Regions from separate parts of the Homo sapiens genome. Here regions 2, 3, 4, 5 and 6 are each linked to region 1. The links are contacts of gene promoters, found by promoter capture Hi-C in human tissues and cell types (Jung and others, 2019). All regions are on one chromosome and are shown on one strand. The core of a region is centred on a gene start or on the middle of the fragment in contact, and the rest is flanking DNA. Distances in the headings are between cores, read along the strand shown.

Region 1 (4,729 bases), core at 1,375-3,874:
GTAGCTCATGCCTGTAAACCCAGCACTTTGGGAGGCAAAGGTGGGTGGACTGCTTGAGCCCAGGGGTTTGAGACCAGCCTGGGCAACATGGCAAAACCTCGTCTCTACAAAAAATACAGAAAATTAGCTGAGTGTGGTGGCTCACACCTTGAGTCCTAGCTACTCCGGAGGCTGAGGCAAAAGGATTAGGGCGCACACCTGCAGTCCTAGCTACTCGGGAGGCTGAGGCAAAAGGTTTGAGGTTGCAGACAGCTGTGACTGAACCACTGCACTCCAGCTTGGGCAACAGAGACAGACCCTGTCTCAATCAATCAATCAATCAAGGAAGATTCTACGATCAACAGCACAATATTTATTCAAATACACACGAAACAGTTACCCAGAGAGATCATCATATCCTCGACCTTAAAACAAACTACAACAGGCCTGGTGCAGTGGCTCACGCCTGTAAAGCACTTTGGGAGGCCAAGGTCAGCGGATCACTTGAGACCAGGAGTCTACTAAAACAAAATGAAACAAAAATACAATACAAAAACAAACCACAACAAATTTAAAATAATTGAAATTCGTAACACAGTATTCTGACCAAATCAGAATTAAACTATAAATCAATAATATAAAAAGATCTGGGCCGGGTGCGATGGCTCACGCCTGTGATCCCAGCACTTTGCAAGGCCGAGGCAGGTGGATCACCAGGTCAGGAGATAGAGACCATCCTGGCTAACACGGTGAAACCCCGTCTCTACTAAAAATACAAAAAAAAATAAAAAAATTAGCCAGGTGTAGTGGCGGGCGCCTGTAGTCCCAGCTACTCTGGAGGCTGAGGCAGGAGAATGGTGTGAACCTGGTAGGCGGAGCTTGCAGTGAGCCGAGATCTCGCTACTGCACTCCAGACTGGGCAACAGAGCGAGACTCTGTCTCAAAAAAAAAAAAAAAAAGATCTGGAAAATCTCCAAAAACTTGGAAATTATGCAATACAATCTAAATAAATAAGGGTAAAAAATGAAGTCACAAGGGAAGTTAAAAAAATTTGAATTGAATGGTAATGAAAACACAATAAAAAGGCTGGGTGCAGTGGTTCATGCCTGTAATCCCAGCACTTTGGGAAGCCAAGGCGGGAGAATCACTTGAGGTCAAGAGTTCTAGAGCAGCCGGGCCAACATGGTGAAACCCCGTCTCTACTAAAAATACAAAAATCAGCCAGGTGTAGTGGCGGGTGCCTGTAATCCCAGCCAGGAGGACTGCTTGAACCCGGGAGGCAGAGGTTTCAGTGAGCTGAGTGCCACTGCACTCCAGCCTGGGTGACAGAGTGAGACTCAGTCTCAAAAACAACAACAACAGAAAAGAAAATACAAGATATAAAAATTTGAGTGATGTAGTTAAAGTAGTATTTAGAGGAACAGTTACATCAATAAATTGTGTCTGGCCGGACGCGGTGGCTCACGCCTGTAATCCCAGCTACTCGGGAGGCTGAGGCAGAGCACTACTTTAACCCAGGAGGCGGAGGTTGCAGTGAGCCGAGATCAAGCCACTGCACTCCAGCCTGGACGACAGAGCGAGACTCCGTCTCAAAAAAAAAAAAAAAAAAAAGAAAGTAAAGAAAAGAAACGGTACAATACAAAAATATAGTATTACAATCACATAGGACCACCATTTTACATGAGGTCCCTCGTTGACAGAAACACTGTTACGCAGAGCGTGACTGCACCAGAATCATGGGAAAACTTTCGTATTTCAAAGTAGTGAAGAATTTTGGGTGCCCCAAACGGAAAGAACAGTAAATTCCACCCGAGAGAAATTTAAAACGTCAAAACGTATACATGGCAAAATCTACCAGCGAGTAAAATCAAAAGATAAATGAAAAAATATCTGCTGCTCACATAAAGTACCACCGGGTTGTGAGACCTTAGGGAAATCACTTTCCCCTTCTGAACCTCCCGTGTTCCTGGGATAGCGACGGAGATGATAACGCTGGAAGTCACGGGGTGGATGCGAGGATCAGGGGAACACCTCACTGAAGACCCTCTGACAAAGGGATCACGGTTCTCCTTCACCACCGGCAACTGACCAGGCTCCAGTCCTTCCTCCACCCACGAGGCACCGGGCATCGGGGCGTGGCCAGGTGTGTCAGGCCACGCCCCCACCACGCCCCGGCGGGGCCTCGTCCCGCGCGCGCGCGCCCGCCGGGGCTCCAGAACTCGCTCCCGCGCGGCCCGAGCCCTTCGCCGCCCGTCTGAGGCGCATCTCCTGACAAAGAGAAGAAGGCGAAGCCTCATAGCCGCCCTTCCCTCCGCCGTCCCCGCCCCCGCACGTTCGGCCAGGCGTGCCCCGCCGGCCCCGTTCAGAGGCGAGCGCCGGGCAACCCCGGACGCCGCCCTGAGGGTCACTGCCGCCTACGAGTAGCCGAAGTTTGGGCTCCCACCCTGCGCGGGCACGAGCCCATCCCTCATCTCCTTCCCCTCGGCCCCAGGCCGCGCGGAGCTACCTGGAAGCCCCTCTCGTACCTGGAGGGGCGCAGCCTCCACTCGTGGCCCAGTGCCACAGCGGGTCACGGCGCAGGGCGGCGAAGACGCGCGGAGACGGGGGCTCTGTCACCCACTCGCCGCTGGTGGTGGGGGAAGGGCGGCCACCGGCGCGCTCGCAGCACTGCACATGCGCAGAAACAGGGGCGCGGGCCGTTCCCAGGGTCCTCGGAGGGGTGGACCATCCACGTTCGGGACTACATTTCCCACAAGCCTCCGGGGCCGCGGCTTTAGGGACTCTCAGGAAAGTCTTCGCCTTGTTAGGCGGTCTGATGAGCCGACCAAAATAATCTCCTTAGCCTGCACTGTTTTCTTTTTTCCCAGAGTGGGTCGTGAACTACAATTCACCACCTCCCCCTTAAATACAACAACTTGGCTTTTAAACATTACACAAATAATCTATAACTGTATTTAATTAGAATATATGTACAAAATAAAGTATCCATAATCTCACTTTCTAAAGATTAACTGCGTATAACATTAAGTTCGCACTTTGATTTTTTTGTTGTTGTTACAAAACTGGCCATAAAGGTATCATGTGCTGCAACTAGCTTTTTTCCCTTTTTTCCCAGGCCACTTTGTTGAGGTATATATATTTGTTGAGATCTATATATTTAAGATGTACAACTTGATATCTACATTTGTGAAATATTCACCATAATCAAGCTAATTAACATGTGCATCACCTCACATAGTTATTTGTCTGATGAGAACACTTAAGATCTATCTTCTTAGCAAATTTCAAGTACACAATATTGTCAACTATCGTCACATAGCTGTGCATCTCCCCAGAACTACTCATCTTGCATAACTGAGACTTTGTACCCCTTGACCACCATCTTCCCATTTCCCTTCACCCTCAGTTCCTTTCATCCTTTAGAACAGTTTTAGGTTCACAGCAAAATTTGAGCAGAAAATACATTGAATTCCCATATAACCCATGTCCCCCCAGCACACACAACCTCCCCAAAGTTGATATCCCACACCAGAACAGTGTATTTGTTACAATTGGTGAACCTACAGTTAAATATCAGCACCTGGCCAGGCTCAGTGGCTCACACCTGTAATCCTAGCACTTTGGGAGCCTGAGGCAAGCAGATTGCTTGAGCCGAGGAATTTGAAACCAGCCTGGCCAAAATGGTGAAACCTCATCTCTTAAAAAAAAAAAAAAAATACAAAAATTAGCCGGGCATGGTGGCACGCACCTGTAGTCCCAGCTACTCGGGAGGCTGAGGTGGGAGGATCACTTGAGCCTGGGAGGCTGAGGTTTCAGTGAGCCAAGATTGTGCCACTGCACTCCAGCTTGGGTGACCCTGTCTCAAAAAGTATAAATTAAAAAACAAAATCATTGGCACCCAAAGTCCATAGCTTACATTAGTGTTCACTTGATGTTGTACATTCTATGGGTCTTGACAAATGCCTGTAACCATTACAGTATCGTACAGAATAGTTTCACTGCCCCCCAAAAAATCATCTGTGCTCCATTTATTCATCCATCCCACAACCCCTGGAAATCTCTGATATTTTTACTGTCTCCATAGTTTTGCCTTTTGCAGGTTGTCATATAGGTGGAATCATACATATGTTGCTTTTTCAGATTGGCTTCTTTCATTTAGTAATATACATTTAAGTTTCCCTCATGTTTCCCTCAAGTTACCCTGGCTTTTTTTTTTTTTTTTTTTTTTTGACACAGGGTCTCACTCTGTCACCCAGGTTGGAGTGCAGTGGTGCGATCATGGCTCACTGCAGCCTCCACTTCCTGGGCTCAAGTGACCCTCCCAGTTCAGCCTCCCAAGTAGCTAAAACTACAGGCATACACAGCCATGCCTGGGTAATTTTTTGTATTTTTTGTAGAGATGGCATTTTGCCATGTTGCCCAGGCTCGTCTCAAACTCCTGGGATCAAGAAATCCTCCTGCCTTGGCCTCCCAAAGTGCGGGGATTATAGGGATGAGCCACTGTGCCCAGCCTCAGTTCGTTTTAGTGCTGCATAATATTCTACTGTCTGCATGTACCAGTGTTTTAAATCCATTCACCTACTGAAGATACATTGGTTGCTTCTAAGTTTTGGCAACTATGAATAAAGCTGCTCTAAACATCTGTGTTCAGGTTTTGTGAGGATATAAGTTTCCAGTTCATTTGGGTAAATCGTATGGTTGCGGCCGGGTGCAGTGGCTCACGCCTGTAATCCCAGCACTTTGGGAGGCC
Region 2 (4,729 bases), core at 958-3,457, 490 kb after region 1:
TGTTCGTGGGTTTTAGGAATGACTGGAGTGGAGAGAGAAAGATACATATATGTACTTCGTCCACTATGTTTATTAGAATTCCTTCCATTTATTCAGCCTGCACCAGTCTGGCCTCTGACCCCACCACTTCAGGGAAACTGCTTTTTTAGGTCACCTGTCATCCTCATGTTGCCAAATCTAGCGGCCGTTCTTCCCCCCAGTAGCACTTGACACTCAATTGTTCCTTCCTTGAAACATTGTTTTTCCAAGACACCACATTCCCATGTTTCCTCCTACTTTATAATCTTCCTTAACTGGCTTCTTTTACTCTGTTGTACTTTTAACAGTAGTGTCTCTGACTTTAGTCTTCAGCCCTCTTCTGTCATTCTGTTCCTCAGGTGGTTTAATCTGCTTTGATGATTTTAAGAAACATGAGTATTGGCCGGGCGCGGTGGCTCATGCCTATAATCCGAGCACTTTGGGAGGCTGAGGCTGGCAGATCACCAGGTCAGGGGATCGAGACCATCCTGGCTAACACAGTGAAACCCCGGCTGTACTAAAAATACAAAAAATTAGCCAGGCGTGGTGGCAGGCACCTGTAATCCCAGCTACTCGGGAGGCTGAGGCAGGAGAATGGCGTGAACCCGGGAGGCGGAGCTTGCAGTGAGCCGAGATCGCGCCACTGCACTCCAGCCTGGGCAACAGAGCGAGACTCCATCTCAAAAAAAAAAAAAAAGAAGCATGACCATTCTGAAGATTCTTAAAGCTGTCTGTTTGTTTTCATCTCCACTGCTACCACTCTTGCCTAGGTCTCTCTGACCTCTGGTCTGGACTCCCACAATAGCCTCTACACTGGTCACCTAGCTTATGCTCTTGCACCCCTACAGTGCATTCCTAACATAGAAGAAACTCCTTACCAAGGCCCATAGGCCCTTTAATAATGGTGTCCTGTTCATCAGTGAAACCCATGCTCATCAGGGACCTATGCACTGATTTCCTTCTGAGACTCTTCTTGGCTCTTTGCATAGCCAGCTGCTTTTAATCCTTCATGCCTCAGCCCAATTTTCACTCTTTAAAAGAGTACTTCCCTCACAATTGTGTCTTAGTTGGTCCTCTTTGTCTCCTCAACCCCAAACATCATAATCTATAATTTTTTTCATGTATTTGTTTATTGACATCTTACTTGCTAGAATCTAAACTCTGATACATGGGGTCTTATCTGTTTTTGCCTCTAGGGTGTCTTGTCTGCATAACAGGTGCTTAATAACTATTAGTTGAACCCCCATTTCCTCATAAGTCAGATGAAAATAAAAGCACGTGCCTTACTTCACAAAGTAATTAAGGGGATAAGTTATACTGATGTACTTTAAAAACTAGGTGGTAGGGAGGCACAGTGGCTCAGTCCTGTTGTCCTGATGCATGAGGAGGTAAGGCCAGGCATTCAAGACCAGTTTGGGCAACATAGGAAGCCTTCATCTATATAACAAAAAAAAATTTTTTTTTTTAGTTTAAAAACTAGGTGGTAGTTTTCAAACTGATACAATGGAATTAAAGATAGGAAACATGAAAAGAACATAGGTGCTTAATAAATATTTGTTGAATACGCTAACATGATGGAATTAGAGATGGAAAACAAAAATAATGAAAGGGATAGGATAAAGTTTGCTCAGCCTTTTTGGAAACATTAGGTAAGTTTCCATTTTGAGTTAGTAACAGTTAATTTTGCAAGTGTAAAAAATGTCCTTTCTCTATTTATCCCTTGTAACTGTTGATGCTGTGAAAGATTAATATTGCCTGCTAAAATTAGATACTGCATTATATGCATTTGATTTTGGTGAATGTCCATATTCAGCTTGAGAGAACTGCAAAGTGTCTGAGAGATTACTTTTAGACCCAGTAGTTTAATCTCCTTGGTTTATAGATCTTTCTATTTTGGAAGATACTACTATGATCACAGGACTTCATGTTTTCTAAGGGCAAACCGGAAAACTGGTTATAAATGCTTGTTATAGAGAGGAAAGTCCATTACCAAACACTTCTGACTTAAGTAGTTAAAATCTTCTCTTGAAGCTTCTCAGTCTTGCTAAGAATGATATTAAACATAAAATCAGAAAGATTAAATATGATTCTGTCACCTACATAGCATGTTTTATCTATTTTATTAATACTTTTTACAAATACTGTTTCTCTAGTGATGGCTCATGAAGCAATGGAATATGATGTTCAGGTGCAGTTAAATCATGCCGAACAACAGCCAGCTCCTGCTGGCATGGCCAGCAGCCAAGGGGGACCAGCCCTCCTCCAGCCTGTTCCTGCTGATGTGGTCAGCAGCCAGGGGGTACCATCCATCCTCCAGCCAGCTCCTGCTGAGGTGATCAGCAGCCAAGCGACACCACCCCTGCTCCAGCCTGCTCCGCAACTGTCTGTTGACCTGACAGAAGTGGAGGTCTTGGGAGAAGACACTGTGGAGAACATCAATCCAAGAACTTCAGAACAACATAGGCAGGGATCTGATGGTAATCACACCATCCCAGCATCTTCGTTGCATTCAATGACCAACTTCATCAGCGGACTGCAGAGACTTCATGGCATGCTGGAATTCCTGAGACCTTCATCTTCAAACCACAGTGTAGGGCCAATGAGAACAAGAAGGAGGGTATCTGCTTCACGGAGGGCAAGAGCCGGAGGGTCTCAGAGGACAGACAGTGCCAGGTAAATAAATATATGGATAAGTCTGTGATCATTGCTGTACTAGAAATTATGAAACTGAGGCTCTGCCATTCAAGGACTGACAGTGTGACTTTTGGCAAGTCAGGTAACTTCTGACCCCCAGTTCCTCATAGGTGGAAATAAAAGTGCTTGCCTTACTTCACAAAGTAATGAAGGGATAAGTTAAACTGTTGTGCCTTGAAAACTAGGTGGTAGTTTGTTGGCAATCTCTGTAGAGATTGGCTGTTGTTCAGATTGTGTCTTGTACACCAAAAATTCTTTCTTCACTTGCAAGTCTCTACTCACCCAAATTCATTATTCACTGGCATTCCACCTGGGGGCACAATTAATTAATTTTCTTTCATAGTCTTGGTTTGAACTTGCCTCTTGAAGGGCTTAGCTGTCAAGTCTTGACAGGGTTATTATGAAGAATAACAATTGCCTATACCCTGTCCGTTTTTTGGTTTTTTGTTTTTGTTTTTGAGACAGCGTCTCACTCTGTCGTCCAGGCTGGATTCCCGTGGCACAATCTTTGCTCACTGCAACCTCCATCTCCCAGATTCAAGCGATTCTCCTGCCTCAGCTTCCCCAGTACCTGGCATTACAGGCGCGTGCCACCACACCTAACTAATTAAACCTGTCTGTTTTTGGTTTTGTTTTGTTTTGAGATGGAGTCTCACTCTGTCGCCCAGGCTGGAGCGCAGTGGTGCGATCTCCGCTCAGAGAGGGCTTTGTTCAGGGTCTCATAACTATAGAATAGAGGAGTTAGCACTGATATTGGAGCCTGGATCTGCCCTGTTTTCTACATAGGCAGATGGAGGAAGCTTCGACGAAATCCCTTTGTTTTCTCTTTCTTCTTGTTTTTATTATTGTTATTTTTGAGACAGGGTCTCACTGTGCTCCCCAGGCTGGAGTGCAGTGGTGCAATCACAGCTCACTGCAGCCTCGACCTCCCCAGGCTTAGGCGATCTTCCTACCTCAGCCTCTTGATGATTAACTGGGACTACAGGCATACGCAACCATGCCGATGTTTTCTAACACTGTGAAAATATTGAGATGATACTAAAAAGTGGTAGCTAGGTCATCTATTACCCATGTTTTACAAATGAGGAAGCTGATGGGATAATTTGTGATTTGGTTGTGATAAGGCTGGAATTGGAATTGTGCCTTCTGTATCTGGATTCAGCATTCTTTTTCATGGATCCTGCTGATTTTAATGTTGGGGCTTGCCATGACTGTGGCTCCAGTGTCTGTAGTGCCCATCAAGGATGACAGATGCCTAGTTCTGTGTTGACAAGAGTTGCAAATGCATATTACTCTGGGTTTTTTTTTTGTTTTTAAGACAAGAGTCTTGCTCTGTCACTCAGGCTGGAGTGCAGTGGCGCAGTATCAGCTCACCAGGACCTCTGGCTCCCGGGTTCAAGCGATTCTTGTGCCTCAGCCTCCTAAGTAGCTGGGATTGCAGGCGTGCACCAGCAGGCTTGGCTATAGTCTGTTGTTTTAAGATGTCATTACTCACGTTATAAAGGCAGGGTAAGATTTCATACATTTGTGTTATAGGTGAAGGCACCTTATGGTGTAATTTGGGGACCCTCCCAAAGTAAATGGGCTAACTTTCCATGGTTGAGAGTTGTGAGTGGTGTTTCCAGGAGCTGGCTGACTGTCAGGAGGCCTCTTGCAAGTCCTCAGTCTTGCTTATCCATGCACTCATTCTTGTTGGGGGACGCAGAGTGGATTCCTCTTGGTCAAGCACAGTGACTTGTATTAACCAACTTAAGGGTGACACTTATAAACCAGATGCCAACTTACAAAGAAAAACAGAACCACTAGAGAGCCAAACAGAAGCCAAACTCTAGTGAGAAAATTGCTTGATGTGGCTGGGCATAGTGGCTCACGCCTGTAATCTCAGAACTTTGAGCGGCCAAGGCAGGCGGATCCCTTTAGGCCAGGAGTTCGAGGCCAACATGGTGAAACCCCATCTCTACTAAAAATACAAAAAATTAGCCGGGCGTGGTGGCACACACCTGTGGTCCCAGCTACT
Region 3 (4,729 bases), core at 1,204-3,703, 340 kb after region 1:
AAACCTCTGCACTAAATAATGCAGAGCACCTAAATGAAATACTAGTATGGCTTCTAACAGCATAATGCTGTGTCCCTAGGATGTTACTAGAGATAAAGAAGGACATTTTGTAATATGAGATGGGTCAATCCACAGTCTACACACATGTCAAAACATATTGTACACTATGAATCCCAAATATCTGAGATAGGTCTCAGTTAATTTGGGAAGTTTATTTTGCCAAGGTTGAGGACATGTTCCCATGACACAGCCTCAAGAGATCCTGACATGTGCCCAAGGTGATCAGGGCACAGCTTGGTTTTATACATTTTAGGGAGACATGAGACATCAATCAGTATATGTAAGATAAACATTAGTTCTTCCCAAAAAGGCAGGACAACTCAAAGCAGGGAGGGGGCTTCCAGGTCACAGGTAGGTGAGAGACAAATGGTTGCATTCTTTTGAGTTTCTGATTAGCCTCTCCAAAGGAGGCATTCAGGTATGCATTTATCTCAGTGAGCAGAGGGGTGACTTTGAATAGAGCGGGAGGCAGGTTTGCCCTAAGTAGTTCCCAGCTTGACTTTTCCCTTTAGCTTAGTGATTTTGGGGTCATAAGATTTATTTTCCTTTCACATTTCCCCCCTTTTGTTTCTAAAATCTTTTGGAGAAAGCATTATCGGAAGAAAATGAGTCCCTGGTCTCAGGTTTCATCTGCTGTCTCACAGCTAAGACAGTTTATTCCTAGACAGATAAGTTCCAAGTTATTAGGAAAGCTCATTTTTAGCAGGTTCTGAAGTCTTATGTCCTATGAAGAGAAAATAGGAGAAAGAAGGGAGAAAAACAACAACAAACAAAAGAACAATCCTGCAAAACTGATATAGACCACCTTACTCTGTAGTCCATACATCAGTAGGCAGGTATAAAAGTGGCTTATGTATGTAAAAGGTTGCTGTTATTTTCTTTTGAAGTTTAAGTTGTCTAGTTTCAGTTTGCAGGGCTTTAAGAAAGCATAGCTTAGTTTTCAGTGATTTCAAATTAGGAAAAATGTAGGGAAAAGGAAAAGAAAGAAAAAAATGAAAACATTATTTTGGAGACTTGTAGCCAGGAAAAGTTAGAATTCAGTCCAGTCTGTAGAAAATAATAAAAACAGAAAAACATTAGGCAAGACTAGAATCTAACAACAGGTGTACTTTAGTTTTTGAAACAATTTTTCTCTCTCCAGTTTCCCATTTTTACTAAAAATCATGACAAATCATGGTAGGACCAATTTGCTTTATTATACTTGGCCAAATTATTTGTATAAAGTGCAGCTAGAATAATTATTCTTCACATAGGCTTTTTAAATTGGCTTTGATGGAACTTTGTTCCATAGAAGGAATCTCAGATATGACTTTTTTAAAGCCAAGCCCAGCCATGGATTTGTACCATCAAATACCTATGAGTTGGGTGAATTCCTCTCCCCTTGAGGTCTCAAGATAACTTGGGGTTCCCAGGCCAGTCAGAAAGTGACATTCATTTCTTATCACAGGTCAAGAACCGTGTACAGGGACTGTGTAGATAAGGTATGAGGCCAGTTTTCCCAAGGGGCTTTTATTGGCTCTAAAAGACAACTTTGATTCCTTAAAGGAAAGTAAACCATTCCAGTCAAAACTTGGTAAAATAACCAGTTGCTCCAGTCATGTCCTGTTACAAATGAAAACAGATTCTTATTGCACTTATGCAAATAACTATATAGCCGTAAGTTAAGAATACTTAAAATAGTTTCCAAATTCTGGAGAAATCAGGTGGAGAGAAACAAATATACTCCAAATTTTGTTGGTAGGAGTATACTTAGTTGTTAAAAGCTGTCAATAGCACAAAAGAAAAGTTTCCTTGACTCTGAAAATTGAAAGATCAGTAACATTTTAAGCAAAAAGTCAAAAAGATTACTTCAGTCATCTATTATTTCAGTCTTTGTAGTTAATTCCTGTTCTGCTTGAAATTCATGAACATTTCAGCTCTCCATGAGTCCTGAAAGTTTTTCCTCTATTCTGATGTCACCATCTCCAAAATTATCAGAAACCTCCATTCAGGAGCCCCTATTAGAGTTTTATAGTAGATTATAAAACCACCTTCTAAAGAGAACCAAAACAAGACAACAATTGTCCATGGATGACAAAATGTTTTAGGGCAGCTATAGTCAAAGACACAATTGACAAGGAAATCTGTTACCTCTGTGGCACACAAAAATTTAACATAACAATTATTATTATTACTACTAACTATGTACACTAAGTCATATCAGAATTATAGGAGTTCCCATAATTTTGGAACACATACCAATAACATATTTATACAAATATAGCCCAAAGAAAACCAAACCATTTCATGTTTGACAATGCTTCCTGTATAATTTTTATACCAAATAGGCCAAATATGTCATTTTTGGGCTTTAGGGAACCTAATATCTAAAAAGATTAATTAGGTCATAAAAAGACGTGTAATTTTATTTTGAAAAGTTTGTCAAATATCAAAGGTTTAAAACACTTGATATCACAAAATAGGATCACAGTTCATTGTAAAATAAGTGATTCATTTAACCAAAGTGATAACTCAAGGGTTTTCTAAAAAGGTGACAACCTTCATTCTTTGAGAGAGGAGACTTAATTTTCCAAACAATAAGCCCTAATAAAAATAGCATGAAGCCAATTAAATTTGTTTTTCAAAATTTTTAAACAATCTCTAAAATGTTAATTTTGACCATAACATATAACTTCCATAAGTCTTTTTATAGCCTTTATAACCTTTAATAAGGAGTTGGTTAATACTTCAAGAAAACCTTGTTAATCTGACACAGGGCCTCATGTGCTGGTCTTGCATCAGTATGCCTTTGACATTAATGGTTAATTTATAGAGAAACTGAACTTCCTTTATCTCTCAAAATTGGCCCTTACAATCTCATGCACCTGCCTCTTCTGTGATACTCCCTGGACCTTGAGGAGTTGAATAGCTTTAATTTCTGGCCCTGTGTCTTAGGAATGCAGTTTATTTTGATTGGCATCTTCTATCAGACCTGAATACGAAGCTTTAATTGCTGTCAGTGTTTAAGAGTTAGCAGGATTTGGTGTCCTTTTTAGACCCAGGAGTCAAAGCCCAGCAACTCAATGTTACAAGGACTTTAAAAGCACATACAGAAAAATACATGGAGGTAATAACCTTAATTGAAAAAAATTTTTGATCTGTTTTTTCTAAGCAAACCAAAACTTAATAATAATGGGATAAGAATTATTTGATAAGACATGAAATCTGTTAGGCCAGTTATCAAAAGGCCAAAGAAAAGACCTTCTGCAGTGCACAGAATATTATGTTGGAAGAAAACATTTCCTTTAGGCCTTGTTATGTAAATAAAGAAAGCCTTAAGTAGTCAAAATTAAAAAATCTTTCCCTTTTTTCCCCTTTTGCTGGCCACTTTTCTCCCCCCACCACACCACCTTTTATTGTGGGTGGGGGAATTTAGCCACTTCAAAGGCCTTGTTCCCCATAATTTGGAACTTTCCTTCAGATATGATCAAGTTGGATAGAGTTGGTCAAACCTGATAGGAAAAAGACTGAAACAACAACAAAAGAAACAAAAAAACAAACAAACAACAGAAAAAGTTAAGCGAAACAAACGATTGCACAACTTACATGATTGCTGAGCGCTCTAATGGTAAGGAGAAATTAAGACCAGCTGGTTGTTAATTTTAACTTTAGCCAAGGCAAACCCCAATTCAGTTATTTACGTAGGGATGGGTCTCAGGCCAAAGCCTGCTCTCTACCATCCTAGAAGCAGGAAAAACTCAAACTCGTCTTCCCTGTTGGGAGCGAGTTCAAACTCCATAAAGGAATTACCTGCCGTCCATTGTCATGGAAACAGGAAAAACTTGCCTTCCTTGTGTTAAAAGCAAGTAAAACTCCAAAAAAAAAAAAAAAAAAAAAAGGAGTTGTACAGAAAAATAAAGTTTAGATCTTGACCAAATTTTGGGAGATCAGGGATTCTCTGGAGGAGGTGCTTCTAAGTGGCTGCAGGAGGGAGGCTGGCTGGGGCTGCACACTCCATGGAGCCCATGGGAACCCCGCTCCTTCTGAGTTGGGGCAGGAGCTCCTTGGGTGCCGCTGCAGCCACCCAAACTGCAGACCTAGGCCTTCCTGTTCTATGGATCAGGAAGGAGGCCCACCCTCCTGTGCTCCCTGCTGTCTTGGCGGGTGTTTACTCCCATTGCCTGGCCTCTCTCCTCTCCTGGGGAGGGCACTGGTCTTGGAGCAGGGTTGGAGCAGAGCCCTGGGGCCTTGAATGGCAGCGGGAGGCAGAGTCCTGGGCAGAAGCAGGCGGATCCCCAGTAAGGTCCCACCTTCAGACCAGGGAGGGCCTGACAGCTGGGGGCAGGCTGCCAGTCACACAGACCAGAGTAGGGACTTGAAGCGCCTCCTCTGGGCCTGCCCATGGCTGCGCATCCACCAATTGGCATGCATTTCCTCCCCGCTCAGGTCCATAAAAGCCCTGGGCTCGGCCACAGCAGGGCAAAGACCAGAGGACAGAGAGAGGAAGGGGATAACTACCTGCAGAGAGGAGCTATCCTCTTTGCTGAGAGCTTCAGAGGCCTGCAGAGACATCTGAACAACCTGCCTACAAAGAGGAGCCACCCTCTTCAGAGCCTCCTCTCTGCTGAGAACAGCAGACAGCAGGATGACCAGTGGGCAGAGAAGAGCTACCCCCTCCAGGGCCTCCTCT
Region 4 (4,729 bases), core at 947-3,446, 320 kb before region 1:
AAAGCCCAGGCCAGCCTGCTGGACAAGCAGAGACCATGAGAAGGAGAGTTCAGGGGTCCCAAACCAGGCCATCCTAGACCAGCCAGCTCCAGCTGATCCGCACGCAGCCACTTCGGCTACCTTCTACTGGCCAAAGGGAGTCCCAGGGCTCACCCAGATTCAGAGGTGGGGAAACTGAGTCCACCACTTGAGAAGAGTAGCTATAAAGACATATGAGCGAGGCCAGCTGAGCCCAGCACTGCGGCCAAGTCGAAGACTTTAGGAGCAATAAAAGTGCTTATTGTGTTTCAGTCATTTGAGTGTTGTGGTGGTTTGTTACGTAGCATTGCCTAACCGATACACTTGAGAACGGAGGGCTCCTGGCACCTGCAGCTTCCAATTTCCACCAGGGTCCAGGCTCCCTCCCTGCTGGTAGGGCTGTAATTAGTGTCTCCCCTTACCTGTAGGCCCTGTGATGCAGCTAGAAGTGTCTAGGCCCAGCAGTCACCCACAATTAGGGGCAGGCACGCTTGCTGCCTCTGCTCTGGCTGTGGGAGCTCAGAAGGGGCAATCAAAGCACTAGATGGGCTGATGGGTGCATAGAAACAGTGTTGCCTGGAATAGGTCAGAGAACCCACCTATCAAGAGGCTGTTGGGGAATCAATGGTGGGCCTTATTTTTGTTATTTTGCATCAAGAAGATATATTATCCACATCAACACTGTATCAACTCCTCATGGCCACCACAGACCCTGTGTCCCCTAGCTTTGTCTTTGATGTGCCTTTGTCACCCACTCCTACAGACTGCGCCCCACCACTGCCACAACTGCCCCATCACCTCTACAGGGTTAAATCAATGGTTTTAATTTTTGCCTACCTGATGGGTGAAAAATGTTACTTGATGTTTCAGTCTGCACTTCTTTAATTCCTGGGGCAGCTGAACATCTTTTCATGCTTATGACTCAACTGTATTCCTTTTTCATTGTTCAAGGCTGTGCCCATGTTGCTGTTGACTTACCACAGCCTCTTTTGAATATGCTTTGTTATTTTTGTTGTGCAAATGGTTTCTCCTAGCTTGTCATCTGTTTTTTGTTGTTGTTGTTTTGTTAACTTACTTTATGGCATTTTCCCCTCAGGCTTCTTAAAAAAAAAGAAGCTTCATTGAGCTATAATTGATATACAACATCTGCACATAAAGTGTAAAGTTTGATTAAACATTTGTATATACCTGTGAAATCAAATCACCACCTCATCACAATCAAATTTCAAAAAGTTTCACCTAGTTTATCATATTGTTGAATGTGAATCCTTTCCTTATGGCCAGTGGATTTTATGTCTTGTTGAAACGACTTTGTCCTGCTACAGTGATAAAAATGGTCTTCACGCTTGCTTCCAGTACTTTAGTAGTCTAGTGTTTTACGCTTGGATCTAAATTGCATGCAATATTCCTGATCGGTGCGAGTCATCAGTTCTCCCAGCGCCCTCTACTGAATGATCTCACTCATCACACACTGAAACCACCATGGGCTGGAATCTGTCCCTCACCCACAGGCCCACTCCACACCAGTGGATCAGGCGAGCAATTTCTTTAGGTCGAGTGACCCCTATGCTGAGGTCCAGTGGGTTATCCCGACTACCTTCACAAGTTAATGGATTTAGATTTAAGCACCACCTGCCCCCAGCAGATTCTCTTACAATTTAAATATCCTCTCACAGTGCAAATCCTTATTCTGTGAATGACTCTATTCAGACCATGTTCCTTAAGAACCAGAGCTAGGCTGGGTGCAGCTGTAATGCTAGCAATTTGGGAGGCCAAGGTGGGCAGATTGCGTGAGCTCAGGAGTTCGAGACCAGCCTGGGCAACTTGGCGAAACCCTGTCCCTACTAAAAAAAATACAAAAACGTAGCCAAGCGTGGTGGTATGTGCCTGAAATTCCAGCTACTTGGGAGGCTGAGGCATGAGAATTGCTTGAACCCAGGAGGTAGAGGTTGCAGTGAGCCAAGATCGCCCCACTGCACTCCAGCCTGGGTAATAGAGCGAGACTCTGTCTCAAACAAACAAAAAACGAAAGAACCAGAGCTAAAGTCTTGATGAAATGGAAAGGATTGGCCTACTATCCATTTTTCCAAGATGGCAATTCATTCCAGCCAATCGAGCATTTTCTCCTTTGGGAGTAAGACCAGAAAACCTGGCCTGTCCTGCAAGTCTTGTGTTATTCTGCTCCCAGTCCTCAAGAACTCCACTCATTCATTCAACACACATTATGGGTTGAGCACCAACCAGGCACTGGGCTATTATAGGAGCTGGAGATACAGCAGGACCAAAAACAGACAAAAAGCAAAAACCCCTGCCCTAGGCTGGGTGCAGTGGTTCACACCTCTAATCTCAGCCCTTAGTGAGGCCGAGGCAGGTGGATCACCTGAGGTCAGGAGTTCAAGACCAGCCTGACCCATATGGTGAAACCCAGTCTCTACTAAAAATATAAAAATTAGCTGGGCATCGTGGCATGCACCTGTAGTCCCAGCTACTCAGGAGGCTGAGGCAGGAGAATTGCTTGAACCCGGGAGGCGGAGGTTGAATTGAGCCGAGATGGCGCCAAAGGACTCCAACCTGGGCGACAGAGCGAGACTCCATCTCAAAAACAAACAAAACAAAACAAAACAAAACAAAAACCAGCCAGGCGCAGTGGCTCACGCCTGTAATCCCAGCACTTTGGGAGGCCGAGGCAGGCAGATCATGAGGTCAGGAGTTCGAGACCAGCCTGGCCAACATGGTGAAACCCCATCTCTACTAAAAATACAAAAATTAGCCAGGCGTGGTGGTGGTGGTGCACGCTTGTAATCCCAGCTAATCAGGAGGCTGAGGCAGGAGAATCGCTTAAACCTGGGAGGCGGAGGTTGCAGTGAGCTGAGATCGCGCCACTGCACTCCAGCCTGGGCGATAGAGTGTGACTCTCTCAAACAACAACAACAACAACCCTGCCCTTCAGGAACTTGCATTCTGATGGTGGGGAGATAGCTGATGAATAAGCTTAATAAATGGCTACATTATTTAGCATATTAGAAAGTGCCAAGGATTAAAGTAGAGAAGGATCGGGGGATGAGGAATATATGTGTGTAGAGGTGTGAGTTGTAATTTTTAATGGGGTGATCAGGGTAGGTCTCAGTGAGAAAGCGACATTTGAGGAAAGTCTTACAGGAGGTGAGGGAGTATGTTAAGGGCAATCATGGGTAGCCTGTCTGGGAGCAGGAAAGAGCTAACACAAAAGCCCTAAGGAGGGGAGGCATCTGGCTTGTTGAAAGAGCAGCAAGGGGCCAGGGGGTCTGGTGTGCTGGACCGCCTCCTTGGCTTCCTTAGACAGGGCCCAGGAAACCTCCATTTTCTGAGTCCTGCAAGGCTAAATGTCTTTTTTTAACCTGTCAATTCATAAATGAACTAAAGATCGAATTCTAAATTCAAAATAATGTTTCCTAATGTAATACATAATTGATTATGTAACCCTACAATAATTGATTTCTTCCACTTTTTTTTTTTTTTTTTTTTGAGACGGAGTCTCGCTCTGTTGCCCAGGCTGGAGTGCAGTGGCGCGATCTCTGCTCACTGCAAGCTCCACCTCCCGGGTTCACGCCATTCTCCTGCCTCAGCCTCTCCGGTAGCTGGGATTACAGGCGCCCACCACCACGCCCAGCTGATTTTTTTTTTTTTTTTTTTTTTTTGAGACAGAGTCTCATTTTGTTGCCCAGACTGGAGTGCAATGGCACGATCTCGGCTCCTGCAACCTCTGCCTCCCGGGTTCAAGTAATTCTCCTGTCTCAGCCTCCCAAGTAGCTGGGATTACAGGCGCATGCCACCAGGCCCGGCTAATTTTTGTATTTTTAGTAGAGATGGGGTTTCACCATGTTGGTCAGGCTGTTCTGGAACTCCTGACCTCGTGATCTGCCTGCCTCGGCCTCCCAAAGTGCTGGGATTACAGGTGTGACCTACCACACCTGGCCCTTTTTCTTTTTTTTTTTTTTTTTTTGAGACAGAGTCTTGCTCTGTCGCCCAGGTTGGAGTGCAATGGTGCGATCTCGGCTCACCGCAACCTCCACCTCCCAGGTTCAAGCAATTCTCCTGCCTCAGCCTCCTGAGTAGCTGGGATTACAGGCACATGCCACCATGCCCGGCTAATTTTTGTATTTTTAGTAAAGACGGGGTTTCACCATGTTGGTCAGGTTGGTCTCAAACTCCTGACCTCGTGATCCACCCGCCGCAGCCTCCCAAAGTGCTGGGATTACAGGCATGAGCCACCACGCCCAGCGGTTTCTTCCACTTCTAATAGACTCTGCTAGTCTGGGAAATGTACCAAAAAGACAGCATGGTTAAAAGGTCAGTATTTCCTGACCCTTTTTATACTTCCTATTTTTATTTTAGATAGGTTTCTTGGTTGATGCAAAACGCCAATTGTAGTGGTAGGGAACTGGCAGGAGGAAGCTTCCTAAACGGAGGTTTCAAGAGAGACTTCTGTTTCTTTTTTTTTTTTTTTTTTTTTTTGAGACGGAGTCTCGCTCTGTCGCCCAGGATTGAGTGCAGTGGCGCAATCTCAGCTCACTGCAAGCTCCACCTCCTGGGTTCACACCATTCTCCTGCCTCAGCCTCCCGAGTAGTTGAGACTACAGGCACCTGCCACCACGCCCGGCTAATTTTTTTGTATTTTCAGTAGAGACGGGGTTTCACCGTGTTAGCCAGGGATGGTCTCGATCTCCTGACC
Region 5 (4,729 bases), core at 1,230-3,729, 270 kb after region 1:
ATTCTCATAATGTTGGCCAATAAAACCAGTAATGAAAATTTGAGAGTTTTCAACTAATTAGGCTTTTCATGAGAACATAACCAAAGTTTGTACATAATATAAAAAATTATGCTTAGAGGGAGAAGACATAGCTATTTTTAAACCAAAATTTTCAAACCAGTCTGATTTGTCTCAAGATTTGCCTTAATTGGAACTATCATAAAATATGCCCTTAGGTACCACATATCAGAGGAGTTTTTATTGGCCTTTTTTTTCTGACCACCAGTTGTCATTCAACAGAGCAGCCAGTTCTGCTAGAAGAAAGGACCCTCCCTCTGTTGTAAGAGGGAAGGAGAGGTGGGAGATTGGAAGATGCGTGGTGTAACGACGAAGGGAAGTGAGAGACGAGGCTGGCAGGTGCAGGAGCCGGGAGAAAAGGCATGAGGGAAGAGTTTGCAGAACGTGGTGGAGGCCCGAAGTCACCATCTCGGGGACAGAAGGGAAACACAGGCTCCGCGCAGGGCTAGGTGTTGTGTCCGTTGGTGATCGCGTGTATGAAGTGAGATGCATTTCTTGAACATGGGCCTTTCTCCAGGATTGCTCAGCCTCTTGTGGGCAGGCATGGAGTGGGCAGGTGATATGGGTCATCCAGGGTAGAGGTTTTGCCAGGTGGTGCAGGAGATGGGCAAAGGAATTGAAGGCATTTGCAAAATAAGTGATTATAAAGTGAGTCCATGTAATTCAGGTTGGCCAAAGGGCAAATTGCAGCTAGAAAGGGGCAGGTGGACTGAAGGGTTAGTGGTGATGGGTTAGGGATGAGGGCAAAGACCTGAATGGCCGGGTGGGCACTGGGTTAGTGGTGTAGGTTTGGGAGACCTCCAGGATCATCTAAGAACTGGGGTAGAGAGAAAATTGAGAGCCAAGAACAAGTCTTCAGTGAGTGGGGGTGTGTCTCCAGAATGTCCTCAGATGACACAGAGAAAAGGGGGAAAGGCTGGTGAAGCTGGATGACATTGGCCTCCAGCAGAAAGGTCAGTCTGGAGGCAGCGATGGGACACAGTCCCCACCCACTGCCCCTGCAGTCAGAGGACTTAAGCAAGAAATGGCCTTTCATCCAAAAGCCAGCAGAGGCAGGAGGGTCAGGTGATGAGGGGACTATTGCCAGCAGAGTAGATAGAGCAGGTTTTACTCAGGGTAGCCCAGTGGAACCAGTCCCCGCCCGGCGGTGGAGCGGCATCCCGGTGTCCTGACTTGGGCCAGTGGCGAGTGGGCAGTAGCAGGCGTTGGTAAAGCCAGTCTGCCCTCTGCTGAAGTGTTACTGCTGAGTCATTCAGTTCTTTCAGCTGATACCTGTTCAACACCTCCTGCGTGCCAGGCCCTGCCAGCCGTCGGGGTGGGAAGAGGCATCAGACGCAGCTGCCCCCTGCTGTAGGGCACTGGGTTTCCATGCGGAGCCCCTGAGAAAATACAGTACTCAGCAGCTGGGTGCAGTGGCTCAGAAGAAGGAGTTCTGGTGTAAAAAAAACAAAAAAAAACAGGCTGGGCACAGTGGCTCACGCCTATAATCCCAGCACTTTGGGAGGCCAAGGCAGGTGGATCACCTGAGGTCAGGAGTTCGAGACCAGCCTGGCCAACATGGCGAAACCCCGTCTCTACTAAAAATACAAACTTAGCTGGGCGTGGTGGCAGGTGCCTGTAATTCCAGCTACTCGGGAGGCTGAGGCAGGACACTTGAATCCGGGCTGTGAAGGTTGCAGTGAGCCAAGATTGCACCATTGCACTCGAGCCTGGGTGACAAGAGTGAAACTCTGTCTCAAAAAGAAAAAATAAAAATAAAAAAAACAGAAAATGAAAACCACTGGTCTAAGAGAATCTGCTAGAGTCTTGAGAGGAAGACTTCCTTCTTCCTGGCAAGCCCCAGTTTCCTTTTTCAGAACTAAACTCATGCTGCCTCTTGTTTTGCCCGTCCCTGCCCATTTCCAGAGTTCGGCGTGTACTGCAGCCACTGCCGGAGTGAGGTCCGTGGCACGCAGTGTGCCATCTGCAAAGGCTTCACGTTCCAGTGTGCCATCTGTCACGTGGCTGTGCGGGGATCGTCCAATTTCTGCCTGACCTGTGGGCACGGTGGCCACACCAGCCACATGATGGAGTGGTTTCGGACCCAGGAGGTGTGTCCCACCGGGTGTGGGTGCCACTGCCTGCTTGAAAGCACTTTCTGAACCTACAGAAGTTGGGTATTGTCTGAAATCCCAGAGGACCCATAAGTGCCGGTGACAAGCTGTCTGTCAGGGGAGAGGCTCCAGAACCTGGGTTCGTCCCCAGTGAGACCGGAGGATGATCCCCCAAGGACTGCGCAGCATCAGCTCTTGGTGGGCCTCTGCCTTCTCTTCTGTTTGGCCACCTGGTGTGGATGTCACTGTGTGAAGATAAGGACAGAAGTGCAGAGCTGCGCTTTGTGTGTTGTCTATGTCGGCTGAGCTACCAAGGTGGAAGTTTTCATGGAGAAAAGCACCTGGCTCCAGGGCCAGTGTTACAGTGTTACCCTGTAAGGTGTTAGCCTTAAACCACCGAGCAGCGTTCTCTTGATGCCAGTGCAGAGACCAGAGTCAGATGCCCGAGGACAGTGGGTAGGAATTTCATCAACAAATGGACCTATGGCATCATGGCTTTAGAAGCTGGTACATTTACTGAGCTGATGGACAGTGGCCTTCTAAAATATGACACTTAAATTGTAAATATGCACTGTACTTAAGGATTCTTAAGATGTATTTTTTTGTTATTTCTCCTCCAGCTGCTATCCCTTGGCTAATAAAATTCTAGTAATTTGAAAAAAAAAAAAAAGAGAGAAAGTTAAACAACATTATGGTGAATCATTTTTTACCCTAATTCTAATTGAAGGTAGCTATTTTGAATAGGACCAAAGTCAGTGCTCCGATTTTTAAAGGAAATGCTGATTTACTTTTGTCATCTGACAAGAGAAAATGGAATTTGACATTTAAGGTTCTTCCTAGCCCCAAGAGTCTTATTTCTTCTAGCAAAAGGAGGACAAGATTGCCGTGCAGCATGGATAGAAAAGTCTCCCTGGCCAGGCCCCATGGCTCATGCCTGTAATCCCACACTTTAGAAGGCAAAAGTGAGGGGATCACCTGAGCTCAGGAGTTCGAGACCAGCCTGGGCAACATAAGGAGATCCCATCTCTGCAAAAAATTTAAAAAATAGGCCGGGCACGGTGGCTCATGCCTGTAATCCCAGCACTTTGGGAGGCTGAGGTGGGAGGATTACCTGAGGTCAGGAGTTCGAGACTAGCCTGGCCAACATGGTGAAACCCCATCTCTACTAAAAATAGAAAAATTAGCCGGGCATGGTGGCGGGCGCCTGTAATCCCAGGTACTGGGGAGGCTGAGACAGGAGAATCGCTTGAACTTGGGAAGCAGAGGTTGCAGCGAGCTGAGATTATGCCATTGCACTCCAGCCTGGGTGACAAGAGTGAGACTCTGTCTCAAAAAAAGAAAAAAAAAATTAAAAAAATAGCCGGGTGTGGTGGCACATGCCTGTGGTCCCAGCTACTTGAGGGGCCGAGGTGGGAGGATCACTTGAGTCCAGGAGGTTGAGGCTGCAGTGAGCCTTGATTGCACCGCTGCACTCCAGCCTGGGCAACAGAGTGAGACCCTGTCAATAAACCAAAGTCTTCCTTGCCTCTGTTCAGATGGGCTGGGTTCCAGTGAGTGCCCTCACTCTTCCTTTAGGCTCCCTCGCAAACTGCCTGTGTTTGCCTGTGTTCTGAGTAGTTATAACATCTGTGTCCACCAATTCTTCAGAATGATTTTCTTTTTTAAAGTTAAATTTTTTTTTTTTTTTTTTAGAGAGAGAGACAGGGTCTCACTCTGTCACCCAGACTGGAGAGTGGTGATGCAATCATAGCTCACTGTAGCCTCTATCACCTGAGCTCAAGTGATCCTCCCACCTCAGCCTCCCGAGTAGCTGGGACTACAGGTGTGCACCACCATGCCTGGCTAATTTCAGAATGATTTTCAACTTCACATTTTGTATGTGCCAGTGAAAAGAAATCTTTTTTATTATTTCTACTGAAATATCTATTTCTGTTTCTTAGAATTTTACAGTTCCAAGTAGATTAGCTTAGGGACTAGGACATGTCTCATAATGGGAGAGCATTGCATATTCATGTGTTTCAAACTCCAGGTCAGGACCCATTAGTGGATTGTGACATTGATCTAGTGCGGAAAACCAGCATTTAAAAAAATGAAATGGTGTAAGAGAAAAATGATCACAATGTACCATACATAGCTAAGGAAAATGTTTTGTGTAACTTGTTTACGTGTGTGCAGCACATGTGTGCACAGGTGTATACCGGATCATAGCGTAAATTCATTTCTTACTGAAAGTTGTAGTCAAAACATTTTCACAACACTGTTTTGGATGAAGCTTATACCTCGTCCCCTGTGTTACTGGGCACAAAACTTCAGGATGTAAGAAAGAACTGAGATCCTGTGCAGTGGAACCAGAGGTTTAGTGCTGGGCTCTGGTCTGAGGTAAGGTGCCAGTGTCTCAGTAGCGTGAGCAGGGCGGGGGAGCCGCTGGGAGGATGACAGGAGAAGGCCCAGCCGGGAATTTGCATACACAAATTCTGTTGTAATGGTGATCACAGAATAGGTTGGCTGATTTACACAGAGAGAAAGGATCTGTTGTGTTCCTCAGTGAAATCACACCATTTGCAGAGAGCAATCTTTTC
Region 6 (4,729 bases), core at 1,000-3,499, 260 kb before region 1:
GTCACTCGGGTTGGAGTGTGGTTGTGCAATCATTGATTACTGTAACCTTGAACTCATGGGCTCAAGTGATCCTCCCACGTCAGCCTCCCACCACAGCCTCCCAAGTGAACATCACCACACCTAGCTAATTATTTTATTTCATTTATTTGTTTGCTTGTTTATTTGTTTATTTGAGATGGAGTCTCTGTCACCCAAGCTGGAGTACAGTGGCGTGATCTCAGCTCACTGCAACCTCCGCCTCCCAGGTTCAGGCGATTCTCCTGCCTCAGTCTCTCGAGTAGTTGGGATTACAGGCATCTGCCACCACGCCTGGCTAATTTTTGTATTTTTAGTAGAGATGGTCACCATGTTGACCAGGCTGATTTCAAACTCCTGACCTCAAGTGATGCTCCCGCCTCGGCCTCCCAAAGTGCTGGGATTACAGGCATGAGTTACCATGCCTGGCCTATTTGTTTATTTTTATTTATTTTATTTATTTTTATTTTTTGAGTTGGAGTCTCGCTCTATCAACCCAGCCTGGAGTGCAGTGGCGCAATCTCGGCTCATCACAACCTATGCCTCCGGGGTTCAGACCATTCTCCTGCCTCAGCCTCCCGAGTAGCTGGGATTACAGGTGCGTGCCACCACGCCCAGCTATTTTTTATATTTTGAGTAGAGATGGGGTTTCACCATGTTGGCTGGGCTGATATTGAACTTGTGACCTCATGACCCACCCACCTTGGCCTCCCAAAGTGCTGGGATTACAGGTATGAGCCACCGCACCCTGCCTATTTGTTTGTTTATTTTTAATATTTTATTTATTTAATTTTTTTGAGACAGGGTCTCACTCTGTTGCCCAGGCTGGAGTGTAGTGGCTCCCTCATGGCCCACTACAGCCATGATCTCCCAGGCTGAAGAAATCCTTTCACCTCAGCCTCCCTGATACCTGGGAATATAGGCATTGGTCACCCATGCCTAGCTAATTCGTTTTTATTTTTTTAGAGACGAGGTCTCCCTATGTTGCTTAGGCTGGTCTTGAACTCCTGGGCTCAAGTGATCCTCCTGCCTTAGCCTCCCAAAGTGTTGGGATTACAGGTATGAGCCACTGCACCTGGCCTATTTTATTTTTTTGTAGAGATGGGGTCTTGCTGTGTTGCCCAAGGTGGTCCTGACCTCTTGTCCTCAAGTGATCCTCCTGCTTTGGCCTCCCAAAGTGCTGGGATTACAGGTGTGAGCCACCATGTCTGACCATCTACATAAATTTTTTTTTTCTTTTTTCTTTTTTTTTTTGGAGACGGGGTTTTGCTCTGTCACCCAGGCTGGAGTGCAGTGGCGCAGTCTTGGCTCACTGCAGTCCCTGCCTCCTGGGCTCAGGCAGTCCTCTCACCTCAGCCTCCTTAGCAGCTAGGACTGCAGGTGCATACCACCACGCCTGGCTCATTTGTTTTTTTTTTTTTTTTGAGATGGAGTCTCACTCTGTCACCCAGGCTGGAGTGCAATGACACAATCTCAGCTCACTGCAACTTTACCTCCTTGGTTCAAGCAGTTCTCCTGCCTCAGCTTCCTGAGTAGCTGGACTACAGGCACGCACCACCATGCCTGGCTAAATTTTTTTTGTATTTTTAGTAGAGACGAGGTTTCACCTTGTTGGTCAGGCTGGTCTGGAACTCCTGACCTCATATGATCTGCCCGCCTCAGCCTCCCAAAGTGCTAGGATTACAGGCATGAGCCACCACACCAGGCCTCTTGTGTTTTTTGTATAGATGGGTTTATCCAGCCTGGTGTCAAACTCCTGGGCTCAAGCATCTGCCTGCTTGGCCTCCCAAAGTGTTGGGATTACAGACATGAGTCATCATGCCTGGCACCTGTATAAATTTTAAAAATTACAATTGAGTAACAATTAAAATGATTGTAAAAATAAGTTATAAAAATAAATGCTTACATTTTATTACATTTTTGGGCTTTAGTTGACAAGATAATTCTGAAGTATCACACACATTGTAATGTCCTACTGCGTGTGACTGATAATTCATATCACATGTGACTCACCTTGCAAATCTGGCCTAACTGAATTTATACTCTGTTTAATGGAAGGGCCCACTGCTCATGTCTTGAGTATTGTGACATTGTCAAATTGCTGAACAAGTTTCTAAATACTCACAATTTCTGTGCCCATCTCATCTTGGACCAATAACAGGTAGTTTTGCAGTCAAAACTTGAATAGCACTATATACAAATGATTCCATTCAGTTTTTCCCCAGTTATCCCAATAATGTACTTTATAGCTGTATTTCTTGTTCAATCTAAAATCCAGTCTAGAAGTCCAGCGCGCTATCCGTTGTGCTATGGAGCCACCTCTAAGATCCAATCTAAGATGAAAACCATAATTGGTCTTTTGTTGTTGCTGTTGATTTTGCATTTGGTCTTTTTAAACTCCTTGTACTTAGAACTGTTTTTCATGCCTTTTCTGTATTTCACAGCATTGGTTTTAAGCTTTTTTTTTTTTAAGAGTCCAGGCCATTTGTATTGCATAATGTCCCTCAATTTGGATTGCTGCATTGTTTATGATGAGCTTCACATTAATTATGTTAGACAAAAATACTACATTGATGGTGCTTCTCATCCATCAAGAGACTCAGCATTGATGGGGATAAGTTAGGCCACCAGTATCTTAAGACAGTACCTTTGCGGCCGGGCGCGGTGGCTCATGCCTGTATTCCCAGCACTTTGGGAGGCCGAGGCAGGCGGATCATGGGGTCAGGAGATCGAGACCATCCTGGCTAACACGGTGAAACCCGTTCTCTACTAAAAATACAAAAAATTAGCTGGGTGCAGTGGCGGGTGCCTGTAGGAGGCTGAGGCAGGACAATGGCGTGAACCCGGGAGGCGGAGCTTGCAGTGAGCCGAGATCGTGCCACTGCACTCCAGCCTGGGCAACAGAGCAAGACTCCGTCTCAAAAAAAAAAAAAGAAAAATGACAGTACCTTCCAGAATTCTTCATTGTAAGGCAACCTTTTCCTTGGTAATTAGTTGTTTTCGGGTTCCATAAATAATAATAATAATTACTATTATTATTTTGAGACACGGTCTTACTCTGTTGCCCAGGCTGGAGTGCAGTGGTGCGATCTCAGCTCACTGCAACCTCCGCCTCCTGGGTTCAAGCGATTCTCCTGCCTTAGCCTCCCGAGTAGCTGGGATTACAGGCACCTGCCACTGCACCCGGCCAAGTTTTTTATTTTTAGTAAAGACAGGGTTTCATCATGTTGGCCAGGCTGGTCTCCAACTCCTGACCTCAAATGATACGCCCACTTCGGCCTCCCAAAGTGCTGGGATTACAGGTGTGAGCCACCATGCCTGGCCCCATAAATAATTATTGATGATATGAATTAGTAATATATTTTACTGCCTGAAATTATTCTGGAAGCTGTTGAGTTGTACATCCAGTAGGGGACCAGCAGAACGCTGACAGTATAAACTTTTAATAGTTTGAAAGTCCTATAAAAATAATATAGAAAGTATGTTAATGTACCGTTAGGAATATAGGTTTAAAAGTTTTTTGAAGTCTTTTTTGGCTTGAATTATTTTCTATGTGTTATGCAGACTAAGAAAGATTTATTTATAACTTCACTAGTGGCCCTCACATAGAGTGTACAAAAAGCTGGTAAATAACTGTTGCTGTAAGAAGTCATTAGGCCAGGCGCAGTGGCACATGCCTGTAATCCCGGCACTTTGGGAGGCTGAGGCAGGAGGACTGCTTGAGTACTGGAGTTGAAGACCAGCCTGGGCAACATGGAGAAACTCCATTTCTACAAAAAATATAAAAATTAGCCAGTCATTGTGGTGTGTGTCTGTAGTCCCAGCTACTCAGGAGGCTGAAGTAGGAGTGTCCCTTGAGACCAGGAGGCAGAGGTTGCTGTGTGCTGAGATCGTGCCACTGAACTCCAGCCTGGGTGACAGAGTGAGACCCTGTCTCAAAAAAAGTCATAAATTTTCGGTCAAATTAAGTGTTGTGGACTTGTTAGTAAATACTATTATAGTTGTGTGCTGCAAATTTCCTATTTCATTTTTGAAAACAAGTGGATGGTAATTTTAAATGTCCTTGATGGGTATTCAGGGCGTCTGCTGTTTTCTCAATTTGTCAGAAGAGGGCAGCACCATGTCTATAAAAAACAAAACAAAGAAATGAGTATGGAAGCCCTTTTTTCATATGAATTACATACTGTCACATACATTTTATATTTCAAAATGATACATGCTTATTACTTTAAAAATCATGTTACAGAGATATATAATATATATAACATGAAAAGTGAAAGTTCTGTAACTCCCTTCCCCTAAAGAAAACAAAAACCCTGTTAATAGTGGGCATGTTGACAGGATTTTTTTAAACTTAATTTATTTATACTTAAATTTAGGCATTATAAGGAATTCTCATAAGGGGACTTACGAGATCTGAATTTTCATTGATAACAGATACAAATTTGTTGTATGGATTTGAGCATATCTTTTAATTTCTTCATGTCATTATTCTCCTTTTTCTCTCTGTATCAAGTTAAGAGCATTACTACATCTTCAAGAAATGTGAGAAGAGCTGGTGATGACAGGAAGGAATTTGTAGGTCTAAGTGTAAGGTAGTGTTAGCACAAAGTTAGTCTTCAGTTTTCTAACTGTATTTTAATGTTAAATTTTGGGCTTTGATCATTTCATTTTGTTTTTGTCCCTACTTGAAAAATGTTTAGCTTATTAACCT

What was found. Contacts are between HindIII fragments. The study calls those that stand out against the background at their distance.
Region 2: a fragment that was not itself captured here is called in contact with the fragment with the promoter of ZFP1 in region 1 in 1 of the 25 tissues and cell types used here (mesendoderm cells).
Region 3: a fragment that was not itself captured here is called in contact with the fragment with the promoter of ZFP1 in region 1 in 1 of the 25 tissues and cell types used here (IMR-90 fibroblasts).
Region 4: a fragment that was not itself captured here is called in contact with the fragment with the promoter of ZFP1 in region 1 in 3 of the 25 tissues and cell types used here (dorsolateral prefrontal cortex, small bowel and spleen).
Region 5: a fragment that was not itself captured here is called in contact with the fragment with the promoter of ZFP1 in region 1 in 1 of the 25 tissues and cell types used here (thymus).
Region 6: a contact is called between a fragment that was not itself captured here and the fragment with the promoter of ZFP1 in region 1, in 1 of the 25 tissues and cell types used here (IMR-90 fibroblasts).

The regions. Positions count from the first base shown.
Region 1 is chr16:75,146,419-75,151,147 of GRCh38, reverse strand. It overlaps ZFP1 (ZFP1 zinc finger protein), which reads right to left and starts at 2,624. Exons shown (of 4, transcript NM_153688.4): 1 at 2,505-2,624. RefSeq lists a silencer at 2,034-2,403 and an enhancer at 2,764-2,813. The HindIII fragment of the contact is 27,656 bases long and covers 1-4,729 here.
Region 2 is chr16:74,658,894-74,663,622 of GRCh38, reverse strand. It overlaps RFWD3 (ring finger and WD repeat domain 3), which reads left to right. Exons shown (of 13, transcript NM_018124.4): 2 at 2,172-2,691. The coding sequence starts at 2,174. Among named protein-coding and RNA genes, the nearest start is that of RFWD3, 5.6 kb to the left of the region's middle. The HindIII fragment of the contact is 6,343 bases long and covers 1-4,729 here.
Region 3 is chr16:74,807,141-74,811,869 of GRCh38, reverse strand. No RefSeq gene overlaps it. Among named protein-coding and RNA genes, the nearest start is that of FA2H, 35 kb to the right of the region's middle. The HindIII fragment of the contact is 7,167 bases long and covers 1-4,729 here.
Region 4 is chr16:75,468,689-75,473,417 of GRCh38, reverse strand. CHST6 (carbohydrate sulfotransferase 6) reads left to right here. Exons shown (of 3, transcript NM_021615.5): 3 at 1-1,366. Among named protein-coding and RNA genes, the nearest start is that of TMEM170A, 6.4 kb to the right of the region's middle. RefSeq lists an enhancer at 1,127-1,769. The HindIII fragment of the contact is 5,677 bases long and covers 1-4,729 here.
Region 5 is chr16:74,871,678-74,876,406 of GRCh38, reverse strand. WDR59 (WD repeat domain 59) reads left to right here. Exons shown (of 26, transcript NM_030581.4): 26 at 1,963-4,729. The coding sequence ends at 2,198. Among named protein-coding and RNA genes, the nearest start is that of FA2H, 99 kb to the right of the region's middle. RefSeq lists enhancers at 3-728, 1,457-2,182, 4,388-4,729. The HindIII fragment of the contact is 8,452 bases long and covers 1-4,729 here.
Region 6 is chr16:75,402,460-75,407,188 of GRCh38, reverse strand. The region is part of intron 4 of CFDP1 (craniofacial development protein 1); the gene reads left to right. Among named protein-coding and RNA genes, the nearest start is that of CFDP1, 29 kb to the left of the region's middle. The HindIII fragment of the contact is 7,226 bases long and covers 1-4,729 here.